Linked DNA regions of Homo sapiens: regions 1 and 2 are each linked to region 3. The links are contacts of gene promoters, found by promoter capture Hi-C in human tissues and cell types (Jung and others, 2019). All regions are on one chromosome and are shown on one strand. The core of a region is centred on a gene start or on the middle of the fragment in contact, and the rest is flanking DNA. Distances in the headings are between cores, read along the strand shown. Region 1 holds the start of RORC (RAR related orphan receptor C). Region 2 holds the start of MRPS21 (mitochondrial ribosomal protein S21). Region 3 overlaps PSMD4 (proteasome 26S subunit ubiquitin receptor, non-ATPase 4).

Region 1 (2,721 bases), core at 178-2,677, 560 kb after region 3:
GGGTGTCACCCATTCATGCAGTTAACATCTATGAAACACCTAGCCAGGGAGCCCCTGGAAAGAGGATTCCCCTGCCAGACCTTGGCCCATTTCCTACATCCACATAGCAGCTCATCACAGAACACATGGCCAGTCTTTTGTCTCAGAAAGCCCTTCAACCATGCCCTATACCCCCTATAGCTTCCCTAACCTCTGACTCTATTCTGTTATTTTTTTCCTTCTGCTGTTCAGTCTTGACACCTGACATACACACACACACACACACACACACACACACACACACACACAGTGCCCTTCTGCCCGGGAGATGCTCCCCACTGGCAGGCCGTGGTCACTAGGCTGTGTGGAGGCGAGTGGCCTGATGGCCTGGGCTCTGCTGGGGTGAGGGAGGAGAAAAGACTGCCCCGAGGTGGCAAGGCCCCACCCAGCCCCGCCCACCTCCCCTTGCTCCTGCCTGGCCCCACCCAGCTTCCTCCCTGACGTGGCACCGGCTCCTGGCCTCTAGCCTTGCACCTCAGAGCAGTCCTGTGGTGGGGGTGCTCCCCTTGCTCACCCAGGCAGCCAGTTCTTCCTCCACCAGGTGGCCCTGGAGCTTGGTGGCTCTGGCCCTCAAACTTTCCTCCTCCATGCTCACAGCTGACCAAGCCTGTGGCCCTGCGATCCTGCTCTGAGGGGGTTCCTGACTTGGACCATGGGTGGGGCCAAGGACGGCCTGACATTCTGTCCTTCCCTGCTGATGGCCCAGTGCCCCACATTCTCTGCAGAGATGAAATCCCACATCCCTGGGTGAGTGGCGAGGAAAGGACCAGGCTACGTGGTCATGGGCAGCTGACAGGGTGTGGTTCCCCCTGCCACACTCCCCAAGTCTGTCACTCCTTAAAGGACAGGTTTCTCCACTGGTGAATGAACAGAAGGTGGAGCAGCCAGCCTCCCGGCCACTGCTGTCTGGGGTCCTGGCCAGATCAAGGAAGCAGTGTCCCTGTGCCTCCTGGGGGGTAAGCCCACACCTGGGAGGGCCTGTCCACATTCTGACCCCTCGCTGGGTCTAGATCTGGCTCCCCTGACTTGGCTCTTCCCTCCCCATCTACCCTCCAACCTGTTTCTTCCTTCTCCCGCTTCTCCCTTTCTTTCCTGTTTCTCTCCTTTTGCGATTTCTTCTCCTCTGTCATCTCCCCAGCCCCTCCTCCTGTTTCTCCTCCAGTTTCACTCCCTGCCAACCCAGGGCTTTCTCCTCTGCACTCTTGTCCCTCCCTCCCCTCCTCACTTCTTGCCCAGTCTCTTGCCATTTCTGCCCTCCTCTGAACCTCCAGCAGTCTCTTCCACCTGCAGGCAGGGCCATGGGCCTCTTACCCCGTGAGGCTCGGTGCTGTCTCTGTGGGGCCCTGTCCATGGGGCAGCTCCCTTGGTGCCGTCCTGGCTGCCCTGGCTGCCCAGGAGGGCAGGGAGCAGGGCCCAGGGGAGGGAGGAGGGCGGAGGGTGGAAGGCGGGAGCACCTGGCCCTCCAGCAGGCAGGGAAAAGGAGTGGCTGGCAGAGTGTCCTGGCACCAGGAGGGGACATGAGGAGAGACCAGTGGACCAGTGCATGGAGCCTTGAGGAGAAACAGGACAGGAGAAAGGAAGGGAACTAGCATTTATTAATCACTTACTGTGTGCTGGGCCCTTTGCAGGACACTTTATGTAAATCCATGCTTTTACTTTGTGTAAATATTCACAGCACCCACCACAGGGAAACATTATTATTCCAGATTGATCAGTGAGTGGAGGGATTCTCAGAGATATTAATGATTTTGCCCAAGGACTCACACAAGAACAATAAATGGGTGAGCTATGATTTGGACCCAAGTCTTTGTGACTTTAGAATCCTGTGATTTCTACCTAAGACAGGTGACAGGCATAGGGGAGATGGAGAGGGCAGGTTTGGGGGACTGTGTCTCTTCTCTAGGATGCAGTCAGACTCCTCCCAGTGACTGTTCAGTTCCCTGAGGCCTCTGCCTGCTCGGCCCCTGCCCCTAACCCTTGCTGCTCTTGCCAGGACTCCCTGACCCCCTGATGCTTCTACGTGCTCCTCATCTGTTGGGGCAAGGGGCAGGCCTGGAGGAGTGCCTGGAGGCAGAGAAGCCATGGTGGGGAAGAGGAGAGGAGAGATGCTGCACTGGACTCATTGGGAGAAGGAGAGGCTCCCAGACCTAGTGGCCCACACTGAGGCCTGCAGTGAAGGCTCTGAAGGGGGCCAAGAGGACGAGGCTTCTGGGGATCCTGGTGCTGCTTTTCTCCTGCATGGCCTGGGCCCAGAGTTTGATTAGCTGGGCCTGACTCTCCTGGTTACCCAACAAGCAACTGGCCAGGGGCCAGGCTGCAGCAAGAGGCTCCCTGGCACCTCCTCCTGCTCTCGTTCCCAGCTGGTAAACAGCAGAGCAGGAGTCAGCCATGCCACAGCCTCGTGACTCGCCCACTCCCCCCCACCTGGTGCACGTGGCACCTGGCATGGAGAGGGCAAGCAGCTGTCCCTTCCCTCTTCTGCCGTCTCGTCTCGCCATCCTCCACTCCTGCCCAACCCTGGAGCTTCACACTCTGCTACCATCAGCACCTCTGTTCTTAGGTAGCTCCCAGAGTCTCCCCATGGCTGCAGATTGAGAGATAAAGGTAGAAGTGGAGAAGGACTTTTCAACTCCTAGGGTCATTGACAGTGGATGAGTAGTGAGAAAGAGGAGGGGAAGTTTT
Region 2 (2,840 bases), core at 191-2,690, 970 kb before region 3:
ATGTTGGCCAGGCTGGTCTCAAACTCCTGACCTCAGGTGATCTACCCGCCTCAGCCTCCCAAAGTGCTGGGATTACAGGCGTGCGCCACCGCGCCTGGCCCTATTTATTTATTTATTCATTTTTAATTTTTTGAGACAGGGTCTCACTCTATTGCCCAGGCCAGGGTGCAGTGGTGTGATCAAAGCTCGCTGCAGCCTTGACCTTCCAGGCTCAGGTGATCCTCCCCCTCAGCCTCCCAAGTAGCTAGGACAACAGGCCATGCCACTACACCCGGCTAATTTCTATATTTTTTGTAAAGACGGAGTTTTGCTTTGTTGCCCAGGCTGGTCTCGAACTTCTGGGCTCAAGTGATCCGCCTGCCTTGGCCTCCCAAAGTGCTGGGATTACAGGTGTGAGCCACCGCGTCCAGCCCATATAATTTATTTTGCATTTATTATATACTACTTTGTTTTAGTATCTTTTATGTGGTCCTAGTGGTCCAGGAGGCACTAGAGTGGTATCAACAGTATCTGACACAGAGTAGTCATTCAGTGAAAGTTTGTTGACAAGCATAATAATGTCCCAATCTAGTTCTATTTCGTTACTTTGGACCTGGCTTACTCTGAGGTGGGCTTAAGTGTTAGTGTAAGTTATTAGCATCAACTGATGATGCACACGTCTGTGTCTGTGTCTGTGTGTGTGTGTGTGTGCGTGAGCGTGCGCGCGCACTCTCTCTCTAAGGGAGGTACGTTTTCCTACAGCCATTAGATGTTAACTTACGTGAATAACCATAAATGGATATGTACAGGTAGCATACAAATAGGAGGACGGGTGTCTCCACAGCGAAGAAGAAATTTAAAAGGAGGTTTTTCAGTAGGTCTCATTAGCACGAAAAGGCATAGAAGCTGACATAATTTTTTATTCTAAACCCTGCAGGTGTTTCCCATATATCTTTATTGATTTCACTTTATGTAGTTAAATTAGTGGGAAGATGATATAGGAAACTCACAGTATGTTTATTTCTTTTCCTTAGCACTTAGGCAGATGACGTGTATGAATCAATCTATTTTTCGTCCGGAGAGCAGATCTCAAAGAGTCTGTCCTTTCCAAAGAGAAAACAGGAAGCATCCTCAGGAAGCGCCTACTTCTCTTGTTTTCCATCGAGAAAGAGAAATGGCTCAAATATTTATCAAGGATTTCACAGGATTAAGGGGTATGAAATTGGGCTGACCTTCTCAGAGGCCGAAGGACTTCGACTCCATGAGAGGGCGAGAAACGTGTTTCGGGGGAATTTAAGTCAATGAGTATTTTGCTTTGTCAGGTGTAGAGTCCAGGCCCGGGGAAGAGAGGCAGTCAACAGAGGCCAGAAAGGACGTTGCTATGGTTTCCACGCACGTTGTCTCCCTCGGCCTGTTTCTTTGCGCGGCGCTGGCGATTCCGTAATTTCCGCTTCCGGTAGTGAGAACCCTTCCGGTGGGCTAGGTACTGAGCGCGCGAGGTGAGGAGTTGTGCAGGGTTTGGGGAAAGGAAGGCTGGCTTGGCGAGAGGGCAGGTTTGCGGGCTTTCGCCCCCTTTTCCAAAGACCAACAAAGAGTCCTTCCCCAACTCCCAACTCAACCCCTTTTGGAACTATGTGTGGTGGTTGGGACCCTGTGGCGCATCCTTGTCGCTCGTGTCCTTCTCATGCCCGGCGACGCGTCTTTGTGGTAACGCCCTGCTGCCATCTCTTTTCTTCTCTATGCGAGGATTTGGACTGGCAGTGAGAATAAGAGACAACGATTCACGTCTACTTTCTAGGATGACTTCCATGTGCTCCATCTCGCGCGTCCCTGAGCATGTTGAATTTCCAAATCCTAAATAAGCCGCGCGGTGTAGTTTGTATTATGTTGCGTTTCTCTTTCTGCTTTCCTCGCCCTTTCTCCATCATCCTTTAGGCTCTACAGAGTGAAGGTTTAAATCCAAGGTCATGGCAAAACATCTGAAGTTCATCGCCAGGACTGTGATGGTACAGGAAGGGAACGTGGAAAGCGCATACAGGACCCTAAACAGGTAACTGTTAAGGGACCAGAATCATGCCTAGACTCTCTGGGAAGTGCGGTGGTTATTCTCTCCCTTCCCCTTTCGTTGATTGTTCTCAAAACAGTGCCAGCCCAGGTGTTCACAGTCTCTTAAAACGTCTCAGCCCCTCAGTTTATTATCTTAAAAATGAAGTTCTGGGCCGGGCGCGGTGGCTCACGCCTGTAATCCCAGCACTTTGGGAGGCCGAGGCGGGTGGATCACATGCGGTCAGGAGTTTCAGACCAGCCTGGCCAACATGGTGAAACCGTGTCTCTACTAAAAATACAAAAATTAGCCGGGCGTGGTGGCAAACGCCTGTAATCTCAGCTACTCGAGAGCTGAGGCAGGAGAATCGCTTGAACCCGGGAGGCAGAGGTTGTAGTGAGCCAAGATCGAGCCACTTGCACTCCAGCCTGGGCAAGAGTGAGACTCTATCTCAAAAAAAAAGAAAAAAAGTTCTTCCTCAAACCTAACTGTATGAATTGTATTCAACAAGTAATCACCCCCCGCACCTCCCCGCTTTTAATTTTAATTTTAATTTTTTTTTTTTTTTTTGAGGCAGAGTCTCGCTCTGTCACCCAGGCTGGAGTGCAGCGGCACGATCTCGGCTCACTGCAAGCTCCGCTTCCTGGGTTCACGCCATTCTCCTGCCTCAGCCTCCTGAGCAGCCAGTACTACAGGCTCCCGCCACCACGCCCGGTTAATTTTTGTATTTATAGTAGAGATGGGGTTTCACCGTGTTGGCCAGGATGGTCTTGATCTCCTGACCTCAAGTGATCTGCCTGCCTCTGCCTCCCAAAGT
Region 3 (2,846 bases), core at 52-2,551:
GCCCTGCCCTTCACCAGGCCCTTCGTGTATCTATGGAAGAGCAGCGGCAGCGGCAGGAGGAGGAGGCCCGGCGGGCAGCTGCAGCTTCTGCTGCTGAGGCCGGGATTGCTACGACTGGGACTGAAGGTGAAAGAGGTGGAATCCGAAGTCCTGGGACTGCGGGATGCTAAACATTGAAAGCTGGGTGTAGGCACTGCAGGGAGAGTGTGGAGGTCTGACAGGGTAGGAATATGTGGGAGGGCTGGGCTAGGAATGGCCTTGGAGGCTGGCCTGTGTGGATATGGCACCAATTCTACCCTGCTCCTCTTTTCCTTTTCCCAGACTCAGACGATGCCCTGCTGAAGATGACCATCAGCCAGCAAGAGTTTGGCCGCACTGGGCTTCCTGACCTAAGCAGTATGACTGAGGAAGAGCAGATTGCTTATGCCATGCAGATGTCCCTGCAGGGAGCAGGTGAGCCAGAGCCTGGGTGGTGCCTAGGCAGAGGTTGGGGTGAGGAAGTGTAACTGAACAGACTGACCTCTCTTCCTCAGAGTTTGGCCAGGCGGAATCAGCAGACATTGATGCCAGCTCAGCTATGGACACATCTGAGCCAGCCAAGGTGAGACCCAACCCTGCCCCCATCAGGTTTAAAGTCCTTGAATTTAGATCCTCATCCCTCTGGGGCTGGGAGTATTTCTACCATAGCTAAGTCCTTTGAGGAGCAGAGGGAAACACATGGATTTGCATTTCTTACATGTAAACCTTGCTAAGGTAGCAATGCTAATGGTCAGAGTTGGAGAAATGTCCTCTTGTTCTGTAATTTTCCTTTCTTGCTGGTGGGAGCAGCCTGGGCAGTTCTCTAGGATGTCTTCCCAGGAGGGAAAAAAGCGGGTCTGGGAAAAAGAAAAAGGAGAACTGGGTGTCTTGAGAGCAGGAAACCTCAATGTGATGGCATCTGTTTTTCTCCTCAGAGCTCAATTAACAGAGTTCTCAGCAGGCCCCTCTATTTGGTTAGTAATAACTGCATTCATGCTGTATAAAGGATTTTGCTGACTTGTCCTTTCCTTACGTCGACCAGAGGTGCCCAGATCCCCACACAGTCAGAAGGCAGGGGGCCTCTGGCAGCGGCATGCTCCTGTCCTTAACACCTGCTTACTTCCTGCCGCTCCATACCCTCCCTTGAGCTCACACTGCCTGTTTGCAGGAGGAGGATGATTACGACGTGATGCAGGACCCCGAGTTCCTTCAGAGTGTCCTAGAGAACCTCCCAGGTGTGGATCCCAACAATGAAGCCATTCGAAATGCTATGGGCTCCCTGGCCTCCCAGGCCACCAAGGACGGCAAGAAGGACAAGAAGGAGGAAGACAAGAAGTGAGACTGGAGGGAAAGGGTAGCTGAGTCTGCTTAGGGGACTGCATGGGAAGCACGGAATATAGGGTTAGATGTGTGTTATCTGTAACCATTACAGCCTAAATAAAGCTTGGCAACTTTTTTTCCTTTTTTGCTTCAAATATTGATGGTTTTGAGTGTGAGAGAGGGGAGGAGTCCCTGGCCTGAAGGAGAACCTTCCTTGTTGAGTTCTCTATGTCTCTGTTTCCACCTGTCTGGGCCTCCTAACGTGCTGGGATTACAGGCCCAGGAGCCAGGTTTCCATTTCTAATGAACGAAGACCTTATTTAAACCACCTTCTTGCCAATAACTTTTACTCTGCACTCACACAGCTGAACCCCAAGCATGGAATGATACTCAACCTTTTCAGTTTTTTCATGTGGACTTCTGAGGTTCAGCAAGTTTAGGTTATTTGGCCAAGGATATTTAGCTAATGAAGAGGCAGAACCAGGATCAAAATCCAAACTTGTCTCAGACCTGTCTCGCCAGGAGTTGAATCACCACCAAACAGTAGTTTCCCATTGGTCAGCTGCCTTCAGTGACTCTGCTCAGCCCTGCAAGTCAGTTCCTTGTAGCAACTACTATACCTTCCTCTACTCCCCGATCACTCTCAACAGAAGCCTGACATCTTTACAGAGAGTCAAGGCCGTGAGGCAGGAAGTTCTGGCTCCCTCCCTCCTGCCAGCACCTCCCTGCATCAGTTATGCTGTCTCCTGAGTCTCTGCTGTCCTAAACACCCTGCTGGCGTTTTCCTCTCAGTGTACATGCATAAAATCCACTCTACAAGTAACCTTACCTTGAGACTTTATATTATACGGTTTAAATATTATTTTACAAGGAACATCTATTCCCTTTATAATTTTTTTTAAAGTTTTTTTTTTTTTCAGCCAGGTGCGGTGGCTCACACCTGTAATCCCAGCACTTTGGGAGGCCGAGGTGGGCAGATCACAAGGTCAGGAGTTTGAGACCAGCCTGACCAATATGGTGAAACCCCGTCTCTACTAAAAATAGAAAAAAAATTAGCCGGGTGTGGTGGCACACGCCTGTAATTCCAGCTACTCAGGAGGCTGAGGCAGGAGAATTGCTTGAACCCAGGAGGCGGAGGTTGCAGTGAGCTGAGATCATGCCACTGCATTCCAGCCTGGGCGACAGAGGGAGACTCTCAAAAAATAAAAAATTAAAAAATATATATATATATTTTTATTTATTTTAAACAAAGTCTGTGCTCTGTCACCCAGGCTGGGGTGCAGTGGTGTGATCATAGCTCACTGTAGCCTCAACCTCCTAGCCTAAAGGATCCTCCTGCCTCAGCCTCCTGCATAGCTGGGACTAAGGCACACACTACCACGCCCAGCTAATTTTTTTTTTTTTTTTTTGAGATGGAGTCTGTCGCACAGGCTGGAGTGCAGTGGCACTGTCTTGGCTCACTGCAACCTCTGCCCCCCAGGCTCAAGCAGTTCTCATGCCTCAGCCTC

The links. The method cuts DNA at HindIII sites, captures the fragments that hold promoters and counts their contacts. A contact is called where the count stands out against the background at its distance.
Region 1: a contact is called between the fragment with the promoter of RORC here and a fragment that was not itself captured in region 3, in 1 of the 25 tissues and cell types used here (lymphoblastoid cells).
Region 2: a contact is called between the fragment with the promoter of MRPS21 here and a fragment that was not itself captured in region 3, in 1 of the 25 tissues and cell types used here (heart left ventricle).

The regions. Positions count from the first base shown.
Region 1 is chr1:151,830,375-151,833,095 of GRCh38, forward strand. It overlaps RORC (RAR related orphan receptor C), which reads right to left and starts at 1,428. Exons shown (of 11, transcript NM_005060.4): 1 at 1,351-1,428. The coding sequence starts at 1,390. RefSeq lists an enhancer at 49-736. The HindIII fragment of the contact is 16,173 bases long and covers 1-2,721 here.
Region 2 is chr1:150,292,421-150,295,260 of GRCh38, forward strand. It overlaps MRPS21 (mitochondrial ribosomal protein S21), which reads left to right and starts at 1,441. Exons shown (of 3, transcript NM_031901.6): 1 at 1,441-1,478; 2 at 1,915-2,029. The coding sequence starts at 1,947. LOC105371434 (a long non-coding RNA gene) reads right to left here and starts at 1,400. Exons shown (of 2, transcript XR_922129.4): 1 at 1,212-1,400; 2 at 880-1,077. RefSeq lists an enhancer at 1,729-1,788. The HindIII fragment of the contact is 19,456 bases long and covers 1-2,840 here.
Region 3 is chr1:151,265,987-151,268,832 of GRCh38, forward strand. It overlaps PSMD4 (proteasome 26S subunit ubiquitin receptor, non-ATPase 4), which reads left to right. Exons shown (of 10, transcript NM_002810.4): 7 at 18-126; 8 at 322-453; 9 at 534-601; 10 at 1,187-1,493. The coding sequence ends at 1,357. Among named protein-coding and RNA genes, the nearest start is that of PSMD4, 13 kb to the left of the region's middle. The HindIII fragment of the contact is 5,567 bases long and covers 1-2,846 here.